Linked DNA regions of Homo sapiens: regions 1, 2, 3 and 5 are each linked to region 4. Evidence: promoter capture Hi-C in 16 types of primary human blood cells and fetal thymus (Javierre and others, 2016). All regions are on one chromosome and are shown on one strand. Each heading gives the region's core, a stretch centred on a gene start or on the middle of the fragment in contact. The rest is flanking DNA. Distances are from core to core; before and after follow the strand shown.

Region 1 (2,700 bases), core at 18-2,517, 170 kb after region 4:
GCTAAAGTACAGTGGCATGATCTCGGTTCACTGCAGCCTCAACCTCCTGAGCTCAAGCGATCCTCCTGTTTCAGCCTCCTGAGTAGCTGGAACTACAGGCACATACCACTGTGCCTGGCTAATTTTTGTATTTTCAGTAGAGACGGATTTCACCATGTTGCCCAGGCTGGTCTTGAACTCCTGTGCCTTGGCCTCCCAATGTGCTAAAGGAGTTCTTTATATTTTCTTGATAAGAGCCCTTGTTTGGTTATTTGTGGGAAATGTGTTCCCCAACACTGTGGATCAGCTTTGTATTTTCCTTATGGTTTTTAATGAGCAGAAGTTTAAAGTTTAATATAATTAAATTTATCAATGTTATACTTTATGCTTCATGTTGTGTGTGTGTGTGTGTGTGTGTGTTGTTTAAAAAACATTTTTATCTCTTTATTGTTATTTTTAATATGGTTTTATTCCTTTGGAAAAAAGATTCTCATGTCATGGTCATAAAGATATTCTTCTACATAAAGATTTGTAAAGTCTTTATTGTTTTGGATTGCCCATTGAGGTCTCTAAAGTACATGGAATGGACTTTTACGTGAAGTGTGGGTAAGAACTCCCTTTCTTTTTAATTATATAGATTCCCTGCTGTCCCAGTTTAGGACAGGGTTGTGTAATCTTTTGGCTTCCACGGGCCACACTGAAAGAAGAAGAATTGTTTTGGGTCACACATAAAATACACTAACATGGCCCGGCGCGGTGGCTCACACCTGTAATCCCAGCACTTTGGGAGGCCAAGGCAGGTGGATTACGAGATCAAGAGATTAAGACCATTCTGGCCAACATGGTGAAAGCTCCTCTCCACTAAAAATACAAAAAAATTAGCTTGGAGTGGTGGCACACACATGTAGTCCTAGCTACTTGGGAGGCTGAGGCAGGAGAATTGCTTGAACCTGGGAGGCAGAGGTTACGATGAGCCGAGATCAGGCCACTGCACTCCAGCCTGGTGACAGAGCAAGACTCCATCTCAAAAAAATTAAATTAAATTAAAAAAAAATACACTAACACTAACAATAGCTAATGAGCTAAAAAAAAAAATCACAGAAAAACTCATAATGTTTTTAAAAAGTTTACAAATTTGTGTTGGGCCACATTCAAAGCTGTCCTGGGCTGCATGGGGCCTGCAGGCCGCAGGTTGGACAAGCTTGGTTTAAGAGAAGATGGCCCTTATTCCATTATTCTCAGTGTCCCTTTTGTCAACAACCAAGTGCCCCATAGAGGGACATAGTTTGCTTCTGGGTTCCCTATTTCATGTCGCTGGTCTCTTTGTCTGTCTCTATGCCAGTGTGGCACTGCGTTGAGTACACACTAAAGCTTTACTTAGTTCTTGACTCTGGCAGAGGGAGTCCTTCTACTTTGGCCTTGTTCCTAGAATGTCTTTGCTGGTTTTGGCCCTCTACAGTGCCAGATGTTTAGAAACAGCTTTTTGAATTCAATTTGGAGAGAACTGAAATTTTGATAATATTGAATATTCCTCTCCATAACACTGGTACATGTTGCCATTTATTTTGGTCTCCCTTATTTTATCACAATAATTTTTTACATATGTATTTCTTTTTTTTAATGTCATTGCACGTTTATTTATTTATTTTTTTATTATACTTTGAGTTCTAGGGTACATGTGCATAACATGCAGGTTTGTTACATAGGTATACATGTGCCATGTTGGTTTACTGCACCCATCAACTCATCGCCTACATTAAGTATTTCTCCTAATGGTATCCCTACCCCAGCCCCCCACCCCCGACAGGCCCCGACATGTGATATTCCCTGCCCTGTGTCCATGTGTTCTCATTGTTCAACTCCCACCTATGAGTGAGAATATGTGGTGTTTGGCTTTCTGTCCTTGTGATAATTTGCTGAGAATGATGGTTTCCAGCTTCATCCATGTCCCTGCAAAGGACATGCACTCATCCATTCTTATGGCTGCATAGTATTCCATGGTGTATATGTGCCACATTTTCTTAATCCATTCTATCATTGATGGACATTTGGGTTGGTTCCAAGTCTTTGCTATTGTGAATAGTGCTGCAATAAACATATGTGTACATGTGTCTTTATAGTAGAGTGATTTATAATTCTTTGGGTATATACCCAGTAAAGGGATCGCTGGGTCAAATGGTATTTCTAGTTCTAGATCCTTGAGGAATCGCCACACTGTCTTCCACAATGGTTGAACTAATTTACTCTTCAACCAACAATGTAAAAGCATTCCTATTTCTCCACATCCTCTCCAACATCTGTTGTTTCCTGATTTTTAATGATCGCCATTCTAACTGGTATCTCACTGTGGTTTTGATTTGCATTTCTCTGATGACCAGTGATGATGAGCATTTTTTCATATATCTGTTGGCTGCATAAATGTCTTCTTTTGAGAAGTGTCTGGTCATATCCTTTGCCCACTTTTTGATGGGGTTGTTTGCTTTTTTCTTGTAAATTTGTTTAAGTTCTTTGTAGATTCTGGATATTAGCCCTTTGTCAGATGGGTAGATTACGAAAATTTTCTCCAATTCTGTAGGTTGCTTGTTCACTCTGATGATAGTTTCTTTTGCTGTGCAGAAGCTCTTTAGTTCAATTAGATCCCATTTGTCTATTTTGGCTTTTGTTGCCATTGCTTTTGGTGTTTCAGTCATAAAGTCTTTGCCCATGCCTAGGTCCTGAATG
Region 2 (2,842 bases), core at 47-2,546, 130 kb before region 4:
TACTGGGGAAAGAATTCAGCGATATTTCTCTTACCCGTTTTTGGTAATAGGAGAAATATGGCTCTGTCCTGCCCGTCCCACAGGCAGCCAGACTTTAAGGTTATCTCCCTTGTTCCCTGAAAATCGCTGTTATCCTGTTCTTAAGGTGCCCAGATTTCATATTGTTCAAACACACATGCCCTACAAACAATCTGTGCAGTTAACGCAATCATCACAGGGTCCTGAGATGACATACATCCTCAGCTTACGAAGATGACAGGATTAAGAGATTAAAGTAAAGTCAGGCATAGGAAATCACAAGAGTATTGATTGGGGAAGCGATACATGTCCATGAAATCTTCACAATTTATGTTCAGAGATTGCAGTAAAGACAGGCATAAGAAATTATAAAAGTATTAATTTGGGGAACTAATAAATGTCCATGAAATCTTCACAATTAATGTTCTTCTGTCACGGCTTCAGCAGGTCCCTCCGTTCGGGGTCCCTGACTTCCTGCAACAATGTAGTGTTATTTTTCCCATTTTATTTACTGGATTTCAATGAGAGTCCCTGCTGTAAAGTTGGAGCCAGCATTGGAGTCCCCAGAGGGCTTGTTAAAACAGAGAAGGAGGCCTGGCACCATGGCTCACTCCTGCAATTCCCAACACTTTGGGAGGCCGAGGTGAGAGGATCACTTGAGCTCAGGAGTTTGAGACCAGCCTAGGCATCACAGGGAGATCCAGTCTCTACAAAAAATTTTAAAATTAGCTGTGTATGATGGTGCACGCCTGTATCCCATCTACCTGGTAGGCTGAGGCAGGAGGATAGCTTGAGCCCGAGATGGAGGCTGCAGTGAGCTATGATCAGGCCACTGCACTCCAGCCTGGACAACAGAACGAGACCCATCCCCCCCGCCCCCCCCGCAAAAAGTAGAGAAGGCTGAATCCCATCCCCAGAATTTCTGAGTCCTTAGATTTAAGTTGTTGCCCCAGAACCTGCATTTTCAGCCAGTCCCCAGGTGATGCTGATGTTGCTGGTTTGAGAAGCCCTGAATCAGAGCGACATTTAATATTACAACGCAAAGACCCCGCCCATTGGGTACTATCCCCATTTTCCAGTGTGAATTTAGGTCCCTTAGGGGTGAAGCGGCTGGCCGATGCCCACACGCGCAGGAAGAGCACTGGGGCTCTCCTCCTGGACCTCGGAGGGTGGGCGGGGTTTAGCGCGGGCGGCTGCAGGCTCGGGAGCGGCCCCTTTAAGGGGAAGGCCCGAGGGCTGCAGGCGGCGGCGGTGGAGACCCGACGAGATCCGCTCTCCTTCCCGCCCTGGACCCTCAGCCTGACGAGAGGCTGGGCAGAAACTCGCGATCCCCAGGCCCTGCCTGTGCACCAGCGGCTGGCGCCAGGCCAATGACAGTACGGGAGAGGGCAACTCTCCCGGCCGCCACGGTGGGGGCCGGAACTTCCTGCACTGCAGCCTCGCAGGTCATTTCCCGGCGGGGAGGCTGAGTCCCCAGGAGCTGGGGACCCCGAGTTGGGGGCGGGGCGGCTGGGGCTACGCCCGTGAAGCTGCCCCGCCGGCTTTCCCGGACCGCGAGGGGGACAGTGAGGCCGGGACCCCCTCCGCGCCTTTGCACCAGCCGTGACCCCTTGCAACGGGGGTACCCAGCGGAGCTGCGCGCTCTCGGCGCCCCCGGAGCCTGCGCCCCGGGCCCCTTGCGCATTTTGCACGGGGGAGACTGAGGCTAGGAGTGCGACCCTCAGCCCGGGGTCACACCTCGTCTGGGGCACGGCCAGGTGGGTGGTAGCCTCAGCCTGCGAGACCCCCTACCCCCGCCCCGTGGTTTCCCGCACCGTGGGGCCCTGCTCTGACCACAGACTCCGATGGCAGCGGCGGCGCTGCGGGACCCCGCGCAGGTGAGTGCTTGGACGTTAGGCCCTTCGCTGTCGGCCCCCCACGCTTCTGTTCTCGGTGTTGAGACGCAAAAGATGGCTTTGTTCTAGGACTTTTCGCCTTTCCCATTTCCTTGCTTTTGAGTCAGGGGACCCTGGAAGGGAGTTGCTCCCAGCTAGGATCCTGAATCAGGGCAGGGTTTATATAAAGTGGCTTCCGTTGCTGAAATGTAATGGGATGGAGGGAGAAAGGGCTTTGTAGGCACAGGAACCAGCGTGCGCAAAAGCTTGGGGGTGGGGTGGGGCACGGTGTGGAGACTGAGTTGGGAGTGTTCAAGGAACCCCACCCAGGTCAGTGTTATTAATATTATGTCTGCTGGAACCAGAGAGCAGGTGGGCTGAAGACAGCTCAGAACGGCAGAGCTGGGCCTCTGTTCTGAGGGTGTTGGGAGCCATGGAAGGTTTAGGGCAGAGGAGGAAGATGCTGTGACTCAGGTCTTAACAGGCTCCCTGTGGATGCACAGTGGAGAACTGAATATGGAGTGAGCCGCAAGCAGGGATGCCAAGGAGTAGCCTAATGGAATAGCCCAGGCCAGTGCTGCGGCTGGCCGGACCAGAGTGAGGACTGGAGGTAGAGGAAGTGATTGGGAACTTGATGTCTTTTAAGTCAAGCTGACCAAATTTTCCGATGTGGAGGGTGAGAAAGAGGAGGGAAGAATCCATGGTTTTTGGTTTGATGAATCCAGCTTTATGAACTGAGAAGTTGGTTTTAGGAGGAATTTTCCATGGAAGCAGTAGAAGTTAGGTTTTGGCCAAGTTGAGCCTGTGATGTCCCAGAGACCCCCAAATGGAGTTGAAGAGTGGGCCGCTGAACACACAGTTCGGGTGTTCTGAGGGAGTTGTTAAGGTAATGAGAGACTGGATATTCATTCGAACAATGGCCAGATCATGTATACAAATAGAACTCTGCC
Region 3 (2,815 bases), core at 44-2,543, 210 kb after region 4:
CTTTCAAACTTCAGTAAAGTACCTATATCTAGTCCTGTCAGAAGGAACAAGAGCACTAGGTAAGGAAATGATTAAGCCCATTTCCTCTTTGCCCTTCCCAAAATGCTTAAACATCTGAAGGGATTCTTAGGCATTATTGAATTTTGCAAACTAGGAATACCCAGGTACAGTGAGATAACTCGCCCTTTATACCACCTCATAAAAGAAATGCAAGCAGCTAAAACTCAGTCCCTGACTTGGGAACCTGGGGCTCAAAAAGGCTTTAACCAGTTAAAACAAGCCTTGCTTAAAGCACCAGCCCTTAGTCTTCCCATAGGAAAGACATTCAGTCTCTATGTAGCAAAAAGGAAGAGAATGGCCCTGGGAGTTTTAACTCAGGCTCAAGGTCCAGCTCAACAGCCAGTAGGTTACCTAAGCAAGGAGCTTGAGTTGATGGCTAAAGTACGGCCAGCTTGCCTCTGAGCAGTTACAGCAGTGGCTTTACTGGTGTCAGTGGCCACCAAGTTAACCATGAGGAATGACTTAACTGTATATAACCCACATAATGCGGCAGAACTGCTGTCTTCTAAGAGAAGTCCCTGGCCAACAGATAATCACCTCCTCAAAGATCAGGCTCTGCTGTTAGAGGAATCTACAGTCCAGTTAAAAAAACCTGTCCTTGCCTGAACCCAGACACTTTCCTCCCAGAGGAAACTGAAGAACCTGAATATGGCTTTGAACAGTCATGCAAACCTATGCAGCCAAGGAGGACCTCAAAGAAACTCCCCTAGAAAACCCAGAAGCCAGACATGCTGGTAAAAGGATAAAAGTTTTTTTACAGTCAGACTTTTGGCCTCTCTGTCCCTGTGCAAACCAGTGAAAGGAATGATAAGAATCATTGTTTATATTCCCTGTAAAGTTTTAATTAATGAAAAAGGATATTCTTAAAGAATGCTCAGCTTAATTAAAAGAGGATATCCAAGTTATAGATATATTTAAAAGATTTTTATGTTTTTCTCTCCTTGGATCTTGTTTTTCTGAAAAGGTTTTTTTTTTTCTCAGTTGACTAAATTACTTTTCTCCACTTTGTCTTGCCAGTCAGTGCATGTATGAAAGGCCCTAGATAGCTTCTGATGGCCTGGGACTCCTTGGGGAAAAAAAAAAAATGCCAAGGATTCCATTTTGTGAGACATCTCTCTTTTCCTCATGAAACCCCAAGAATTAGAGGTGAATATAACCCACTCAAAATCTCTTTTTGCCTTTCAGGTATGCCTGTTTATTAGGCCCTAGAAACTGTATGCTTTCCTAGCCCTGTTCTTAAAGAGCTCCACCCTGAGGCCAATAATCCAATTAGAAAATTGACGAACAAAAAAACCTTACAACTGCTGGGTTTTCTTCTGTCTGTGTAGTCATATATATGTTATGTGTGTAATGGTTATACAAAAAAAGTTATAATTAACTGGCTTTAAAAATAAGCACTTAGATAAAATATTTTTTGAAGGAAAAATAAAAGCTGTAATGCCTTTTACTTCATGCGACTTTAATCTTTCAGGAATAGGAACACTATTTAAGGATTATAAATAAGGAATAGGAACATTCTCTTTTTTTTGCATATAGCTTGAATTTATTTTGAAAGTTTTCCCAGTATACATTCTCATAAACATAATTACTGATTTCAAGTATTGGAACATTCTCTTTTTTTGCATATAGATTGAATTTATTTTGAAAGTTTTCCCAGTATACATTCTCATAATTACTGATTTCAAGTATTTTTGTAACTTTTGACATTATTGCCAAATGGTGTGATGTTAATACTATAAGATTTGCCCCATCTCCATCGCTGCTGGAACATCTCATGGCCCCAATTTCACTGCCAACTCATTGGAACTATGAATTATAATTTAAATGCTTTTTCCTAGGCAGAAAATTCATCTGACTTTTTAAAATATATACTTTAAGTTCTAGGGTACATGTGCACAACGTGCAGGTTTGTTACATATGTATACATGTTCCATGTTGGTGTGCTGCACCCATTAACTTGTCATTTACATTAGGTATATCTCCTAATGCAATCCCTCCCCCCTCCCCCCACCCTGGTGTGTGATGTACCCCACCCTATGTCCAAGTGTTCTCATTGTTCAATTCCCACCTATGAGTGAGAACATGCAGTGTTTGGTTTTCTGTCCTTGCAATAGTTTGCTCAGAATGATGGTTTCCAGCTTCATCCATGTCCCTACAAAGGACATGAACTCATCCTTTTTTATGGCTGCATAATATTCCATGGTGTATATGTGCCACATTTTCTTAATCTAGTCTATCATTGATGGACATTTGGGTTGGTTCCAAGTCTTTGCTATTGTGAATAGTGCCACAATAAACATATGTGTACATGTGTCTTTATAGTAAAGTGATTTATAATTCTTTGGGTATATACCTGGGTCATTTCCAATTAAGAAAAGATTATTATATTGAGAACACGTTCCAAAATTGTAGAATGGTGCTCATCTATAAAATGCTAGTATCTGATAGGCAATTTAGGATTTCTTGCTTCCTGGGTTTACATAAAATGTGCCAAGGAAAATGTGTTCTATTTTTTTTTAAAAAAGAATAATTTTATCTAATTCAAAAGTTATCTAAAAGTTAATTCCAGTTGTGCACTTGAAAAGGTTATTCATCCAAGTAACTTTCTGTATTGCCTTTAAAGCCCTGTGCAGTTGAGTTACAAAGCTTTGATTCTTGGGTCTAAAAAAGGGACATTATTATGTTAATTCTCACCTTAATTCTCTTGAATAGTTAAAATCCTTTGCAACTTCAAAAATAACTGCTCAAGATTCCT
Region 4 (2,700 bases), core at 123-2,622:
TTATGAAGTGTTGAATGAAAAGACACAGCCACAAACAGGACACATGGTAGGGTTCCATTTATATAAAGTTTTTAAATAGGCAAAACTAATCTATAATGTTAAAAATTTGGGAGGGGCATAGTGACTAGGAATGAGCATGAGGTTGATTCTGAGGTGCCTGTGTTTTGCTTCTTGATCTAGATTACATAGGTTTGTTCATTCTGCAAAAATGTATTGAGGAATAGACAGATGATTTGTACACTTCTGTGTATGAATGTTATATTGTAAAGTTTCTTGAAGAATACCTGTTTACAAGAGTTAGAGAACATGGAAGCTCTTTCTCTGAGATAAAACATCTAAAAAGACAAAAATTAGCCGGGCGTGGTGGTGGGTGCCTGTAATCCCAGCTACTCGGGAGGCTGAGGCAGGAGAATGTCTTGAACCCGGGAGACAGAGGTTCTAGTGAACCAAGATCACACCACTGCACTCCAGCCTGGATGACAGAGGAAGACTCTGAGACTCCGTCACAAAAAAGAAAAAACAAACAAACAAACAAACAAAAAAGCCCTAAGTCATATCATGCCAGTCTCAGCAGTTTGAAACCCTCCATGGTTCCCATCTCTCAGTAAAAGGCAACGTTCTTATGACATCCTTCAAGGCCCCATGTAGTCTTTTGGTCCCTCTCCATCTCTGTCCTCCTGTCATCCACGTCTCCCACGTGCTGATTGGGTCTGGTAGGGTGACTGGGTGGCAAAGACCTCACAGAGGTGCCTTTCTGCTCAGGTGGCAAACAGGAGAGTCTATCTGGGCCCTGCAGGATGGATCCTTCCTGAGTCACTGAATATATTGGAGGTGCAGACAGCGCCAGAGAAAGGCATTGAGCCTGCCAGATCAGACACCGCCTCTTAGGGTCGACGGAACACCCAGGAGCAAAGACCAGAAATTGTGGGAGAAAGGCCTGGAAGGGGGCCGGGGAGAGGCACAGAGACAGCGAGGTGATGCAGGCTTGGTGGGAGCGGGTATGGTAGGCAATGGGGGACAGAGGGGCAGGGCACAGACAAAGCTTGCTGAAGATATGAAGAGCAATTGTGAGCCGGCGAATCCTTGGAGTAGAGGAGAAAATTGAGGTCTCCTGTTCAGCCCGATGCAGGTGAGATGCTGTTGGAACACGTGACAGAGAAAGGGTGTGTGAGCCCAGGGCTTGTGCACTAAGCGCACAGGAGCGAAGGGGGCGAGAAGAAAAAACGACGCCCAGCAAAGAGCGTCAAGGCCCAACCGCCTGCCCCCAACCGGTCTCTAGCGCCTCGTGACCTTCTGCACTCCGTTGCAGGCGTTTGGCACCAGATGGTCCCACGCGCTCTGTTCGACGGTTGGGGGCCGCGGACGCTGGTTGTCAGCAGCACTGGGTCAGCCGGTGAACGGGTGTGCAGCGTCCTCAGCGCCGCAGCAGTCAGCACCTGTGGGTGCTCTAGCTCTTTCCCTCGGGGTCACCGGAGGCAGAGCCTCCCCTACGCGGAGTAGAGGAGCAGCTCACATGGTGCGGGGGTGGGGATCGGGCTTCCTGGAAGGCTGGAAATGGGAGTTGGGATAAGGGGTTGGCGAGGGCGGGGCGGCACCGTCTACCGGGGTGACCGGTGTGCCCTGGCAGCCAGGGAGTCTGCTGCAGGGCAGGTATTAAGATTCGGAGAGACATAGGACAAAGAACCCTCGGCCTCTTCTTTTCAGGCAGCCGCCACAGAGGACACCAGATCATGCCAACACCCCCACAACTCCTGCCCGCCTGCAGGCAGCTCTGGGCTCAGGACACCGCCTGCAAGAACCTTTATAGCGCAGCTCTCCAAACCTTGGAGGCGAGGACATTCTATGTGCCCGCCCTGGAAAGGCCTGAACCTATAACATCTGGGCTGTGATGGTTTCTGAGGTGGACACCAGGTATTCTAAACTGCCCACATGCTTCACCCCAAAACTTCCCTTTCTAACAGGCAGTGTATTTTCACTTCTTTTAAAATATTTGGTAAAACAGCATTTAAGCCTTAGAAAGTTCCCCATCTCACCCCAGCCAGGGTTTGAACCCATGCTGTCTGATTCCACAGATCATGCATTTAACCACCAGACTTTGGTGTAGCCTCACCGTGTGTGCATAATGGATTACACTTGTTTATAATACTTGGGGTGCTTAGCACCATGTCAGAGCTGTAATGAGTACTTGCACTGTTAGGAGGTCTAACATGGTTCAATTTATAAGTGGACCATTGGCCACACCGGGTCTGGCTCAGTCTCCTGGGAGGATGTAGGCAGGGACCACCAATTATCAGCATATCTCCATGATGAATTTCTCCAGACAGCGTATCACTCTGTCACACAGGCTGGAGTCACAGCTCACTGCAACCTCGAACTCCTGGGCTCAAGAGATCCTCCCACCTCAGCTTCCCAAGTAGCTGAGACTGCAGGCATGCGCCACCACGCCTGATAATTTCTCTTCTAATTGAGCTTTGCAGAAAGCCACACAGCTGTCTGAGAGCTATTTTCTCCCAGGTATAGGGACAGGAAATGGCACCTCAGACTTCTGCAGATTCCACCCTGGCTTAAAAGCCCATGCCCCCAAGGACACCAATCTTTCTTACAATAACATAGACTATCTTTCAGGGTCCTGGCCAAGATGGACAACTTGCCAATATTAACTTTTCCAGGCCACAGGGATGATATATATCTCCATAGATT
Region 5 (2,976 bases), core at 1-2,500, 190 kb after region 4:
ATCTTTCCTAGATCTAGACTAGGAAAGATCTAGCAGGGTCCCTTCAAAATATGTCAAAGAAATATATTTTTGGGGTAAAATGATTTCTCTTAACTGGTCCTTGTTTCTAGTGCTGGAACTTGACTTTCTGCAGCTGCAGGAGTTTTAGTCGACATAAGAGGGGCCAAGAGTTGGTCAAACCTAACAGAAGATCAACCAAAACTAGAAATAGAAAAGGTGATCACCCAATTTACATACTGTCAAGATCTTTGAGCATAAAGAGAAGTTATAGCCATCTGGCAAACGACCTTGACCTTCCGCTACCAAATTCCAAAACGAAACTCCAAACCAGCTCCACGAGGACTCAAGATATGGAGACAGCCTCAGGCCAAATTTAGTTCAATTTGCCAATTCCCCACTTTGGGTCAGCCATTGGATTTTGACATAGTGACCAAAACCCTGGGCATTGACACTGTCTGTCACCATTGTATTAGACTTACTTGGCCTCAGCACGGAATTCACAAGTCATGATGTCAGATCAGTTAAATAATTGTATTCTTGCTGATCTAGCCAAAGGGAGACCATTCAGTGCACAATGGATGTCTGCATACACACATTTAAGATTTGACAGGATACAGTGCACCAGGGGGACTATTACGATGACTACCAGAAAATAATACCAAGAGACCAAAGTGTACTCCTTCACAGGAGGCCCTATGAACAAAACCAGTCAAAACCAAACAAGTCAAAGTCCAGGCATATAAGCAGCTCAATAGTATTTGAGTCCAATTGGTCATAATCTTTGTTTGGGGTGTGATGGTGATTAAGTATTCACCATCACACCCCGAATATATTCAATAATAAGTCAGGTTGCTGGGCTAGGGCATTAATAGTACCTATAAAGAAGGAAAAATTGAGAAGGGGAGACCTCAAATTAGTTTCCTTAGGAGATATAACCAAGTGGTGATAACTTCACTTTCCCAACCTTTTTAAAGTTGTATGAGCTCTAAGTCCCTGCATTTATAATTTCACATCTGGAAAAAAATAATAATAAAGAGGTATCAGTTTATGTCATTAGCCTGGTACTGTAAGTCATAGTAACCTGGAGACCCACCAGAAAAAAACATAAAGATTCAAAAACCCTGGAAAAGCTAAGCTTGCCATTCATGAAAAGTTTTGGACATCGATAGTGGTGATGGTGGCACAACATCGTGAATGTACTTAATGCCACTGAACTATACACTTAACATAGTTAAAATGATTAACTTCATGCTATGTATATTTTACCAGAGTTAAAAAAAATTTTTTTTCTTCATCTATTGAAATTTTCTTCATGTATTTGATAAAAGTATCTAAAGAAATAGCCACCTTTTAAATTAAGCTTTCCATAGTAGCAAAATCAGGGGAAGTGTAGATACAGCACTCAGTTTGATTCAGCACAAGTCCCCAACATGATCAAAATGATGTAAAGCTGCATGAGGCTGGGTGCAGGGGCTCACACCTGTAATCCCAGTACTTTGGGAGGCCAAGATGAGAGGATCACTTGAGCCCAGGAGTTTGAGACCAGCCTGGGCAACATAGGGAGACCCTGTCTCTATTTAAAAAAAAAAAGAGAAATTAAAAATTAGCCAGGTCTGGTGCACACCTGTGATCCCAGATACTCAGGAGGCTGAGGTGGGGGGATCCCTTGAGTCCAGGAGGTCGAGGCTGCAGTGAGCCCCACTGTATTCCCACCTGGGTGACACAGCAAGACCTTATCTCAAATAAATTAAGCTGCATGATATTCTATTAAGTGTTTTGTTAGATGCATAGGTTATCATCTACCTTTTGGAGGGTGGCTTCTACTGAACCACTGGAAGGTTTGGTTGGCCATAAAGTCCAAGATTTTCCCCAATTTATGGATCTGTTCTGAATTCCACACTACCAGCACCCTACTACCACCAAGAGCAAGCCCTCAGGAACCCCACTGGAACCTTTCCTCAGTAGAAACTAGCTTATCTTAGTCTCTTTCAAGGCCGATGATCATTTTGTTTACTGTTTTGGCCTCTGATTATGGAAGGTATTATGGGAACTGTCAGAGGAAGCTATTCAAAAGGCAGGAGTGAGACCCATCAAAGAGCAAGATCTAAACCAGTGAAGAGGAAGAAAGGGTAAGCAAATTCTCTGCGGACCCAAGATAGGTCCTCAAGCATTGGAAAAGAGCGCCTCCTGGTGGTGTTTGAGCAGAAGTAAGTTAAATTTGACCTGTAAGCCTGATGGCTCCTGAACAAAGTTCAGTGGGAAAATTCTTTGTGGTCCCTTTACAGCATGCTGTTAAGGTGTATAACCACATGAAGAAGGACCCTACTGGATTTGTTCTGGTGACATTATATAGCAATTACTTATGATACTATGCACGAATAGCCTGCATACATAGTCCCCAGATCTTGAGTATGTGATGCCTGGAAGCATAATACATCTTTTGCAGGCATCACTCGAATGTGTTTTCTATATTTGGTAGTGATTAGGTTACTAATTGGAAAGGTTAGGATATTGTTTCCAGCAAGTGTAGGAAAACAAGTGGTAGTGATGTCTAGAATATCAAGATAGCTTTCTGTTCTTCCTTTGGAGCGTCAGGGTGAATTGGGAACACAGGGAGGCATTGGCATTTGTGAAATTGCTTCTTGAGTTTTTGGCATTAACCCACAAGCCCAAGGATTACTCAAGTTTTTTGCTACAGAATAAGCCTTAGGTAAAGCTATCCACAGATTATGGTCCCATGGATTTTCCTGTAAGGAAAAGGAAATAATTGGGGCAGAAGAAAATTAGGGGAAAAAAAGTAAAAGGATACGGCTTTCAGGATGGAGGTAAGTCTTGGCCCATGGTCTTAGGAGAGCTGTACATATGTAAGATGCTGTCTGCTTCTGGAGAAAAACTTCAAGAGTCTGCAGAGGTCCCTTTGAATTGTGTGATGTAGATCTAAGGTTTGCAACCCTGAAGTTTTACTGCAATTTGGGT

What was found. Contacts are between HindIII fragments. The CHiCAGO score rates a contact against its expected background, and 5 or more counts as called.
Region 1: a contact is called between a fragment that was not itself captured here and the fragment with the promoter of LINC01801 in region 4, in 1 of 17 cell types (M1 macrophages). The highest score is 6.2, in M1 macrophages.
Region 2: the fragment with the promoter of ZNF792 here is called in contact with the fragment with the promoter of LINC01801 in region 4 in 13 of 17 cell types (naive CD8 T cells, total CD4 T cells, non-activated CD4 T cells and 10 more); the score reaches 22.5 in naive CD8 T cells.
Region 3: a contact is called between a fragment that was not itself captured here and the fragment with the promoter of LINC01801 in region 4, in 1 of 17 cell types (M2 macrophages). The highest score is 5.3, in M2 macrophages.
Region 5: a contact is called between a fragment that was not itself captured here and the fragment with the promoter of LINC01801 in region 4, in 3 of 17 cell types (megakaryocytes, erythroblasts and M1 macrophages). The highest score is 8.0, in megakaryocytes.

What each region holds. Positions count from the first base shown.
Region 1 is chr19:34,660,204-34,662,903 of GRCh38, reverse strand. All of the region lies in intron 1 of SCGB2B2 (secretoglobin family 2B member 2), which reads left to right. It also overlaps the pseudogene ZNF807P and the pseudogene SCGB1B2P. Among named protein-coding and RNA genes, the nearest start is that of SCGB2B2, 16 kb to the left of the region's middle. The HindIII fragment of the contact is 170 bases long and covers 1,183-1,352 here.
Region 2 is chr19:34,962,683-34,965,524 of GRCh38, reverse strand. It overlaps ZNF792 (zinc finger protein 792), which reads left to right and starts at 1,296. Exons shown (of 4, transcript NM_175872.5): 1 at 1,296-1,895. The coding sequence starts at 1,863. LOC124904699 (a long non-coding RNA gene) reads right to left here and starts at 2,099. Exons shown (of 2, transcript XR_007067236.1): 1 at 1,852-2,099. RefSeq lists silencers at 1,535-1,794, 1,905-1,954. The HindIII fragment of the contact is 6,406 bases long and covers 1-2,160 here.
Region 3 is chr19:34,619,776-34,622,590 of GRCh38, reverse strand. All of the region lies in intron 1 of SCGB2B2 (secretoglobin family 2B member 2), which reads left to right. It also overlaps the pseudogene ZNF807P and the pseudogene SCGB1B2P. Among named protein-coding and RNA genes, the nearest start is that of SCGB2B2, 56 kb to the left of the region's middle. The HindIII fragment of the contact is 2,831 bases long and covers 1-2,708 here.
Region 4 is chr19:34,831,541-34,834,240 of GRCh38, reverse strand. It overlaps LINC01801 (long intergenic non-protein coding RNA 1801), which reads left to right and starts at 1,372. Exons shown (of 6, transcript NR_033982.1): 1 at 1,372-1,516; 2 at 1,705-1,911. The HindIII fragment of the contact is 2,823 bases long and covers 1,045-2,700 here.
Region 5 is chr19:34,638,893-34,641,868 of GRCh38, reverse strand. All of the region lies in intron 1 of SCGB2B2 (secretoglobin family 2B member 2), which reads left to right. It also overlaps the pseudogene ZNF807P and the pseudogene SCGB1B2P. Among named protein-coding and RNA genes, the nearest start is that of SCGB2B2, 37 kb to the left of the region's middle. The HindIII fragment of the contact is 225 bases long and covers 1,138-1,362 here.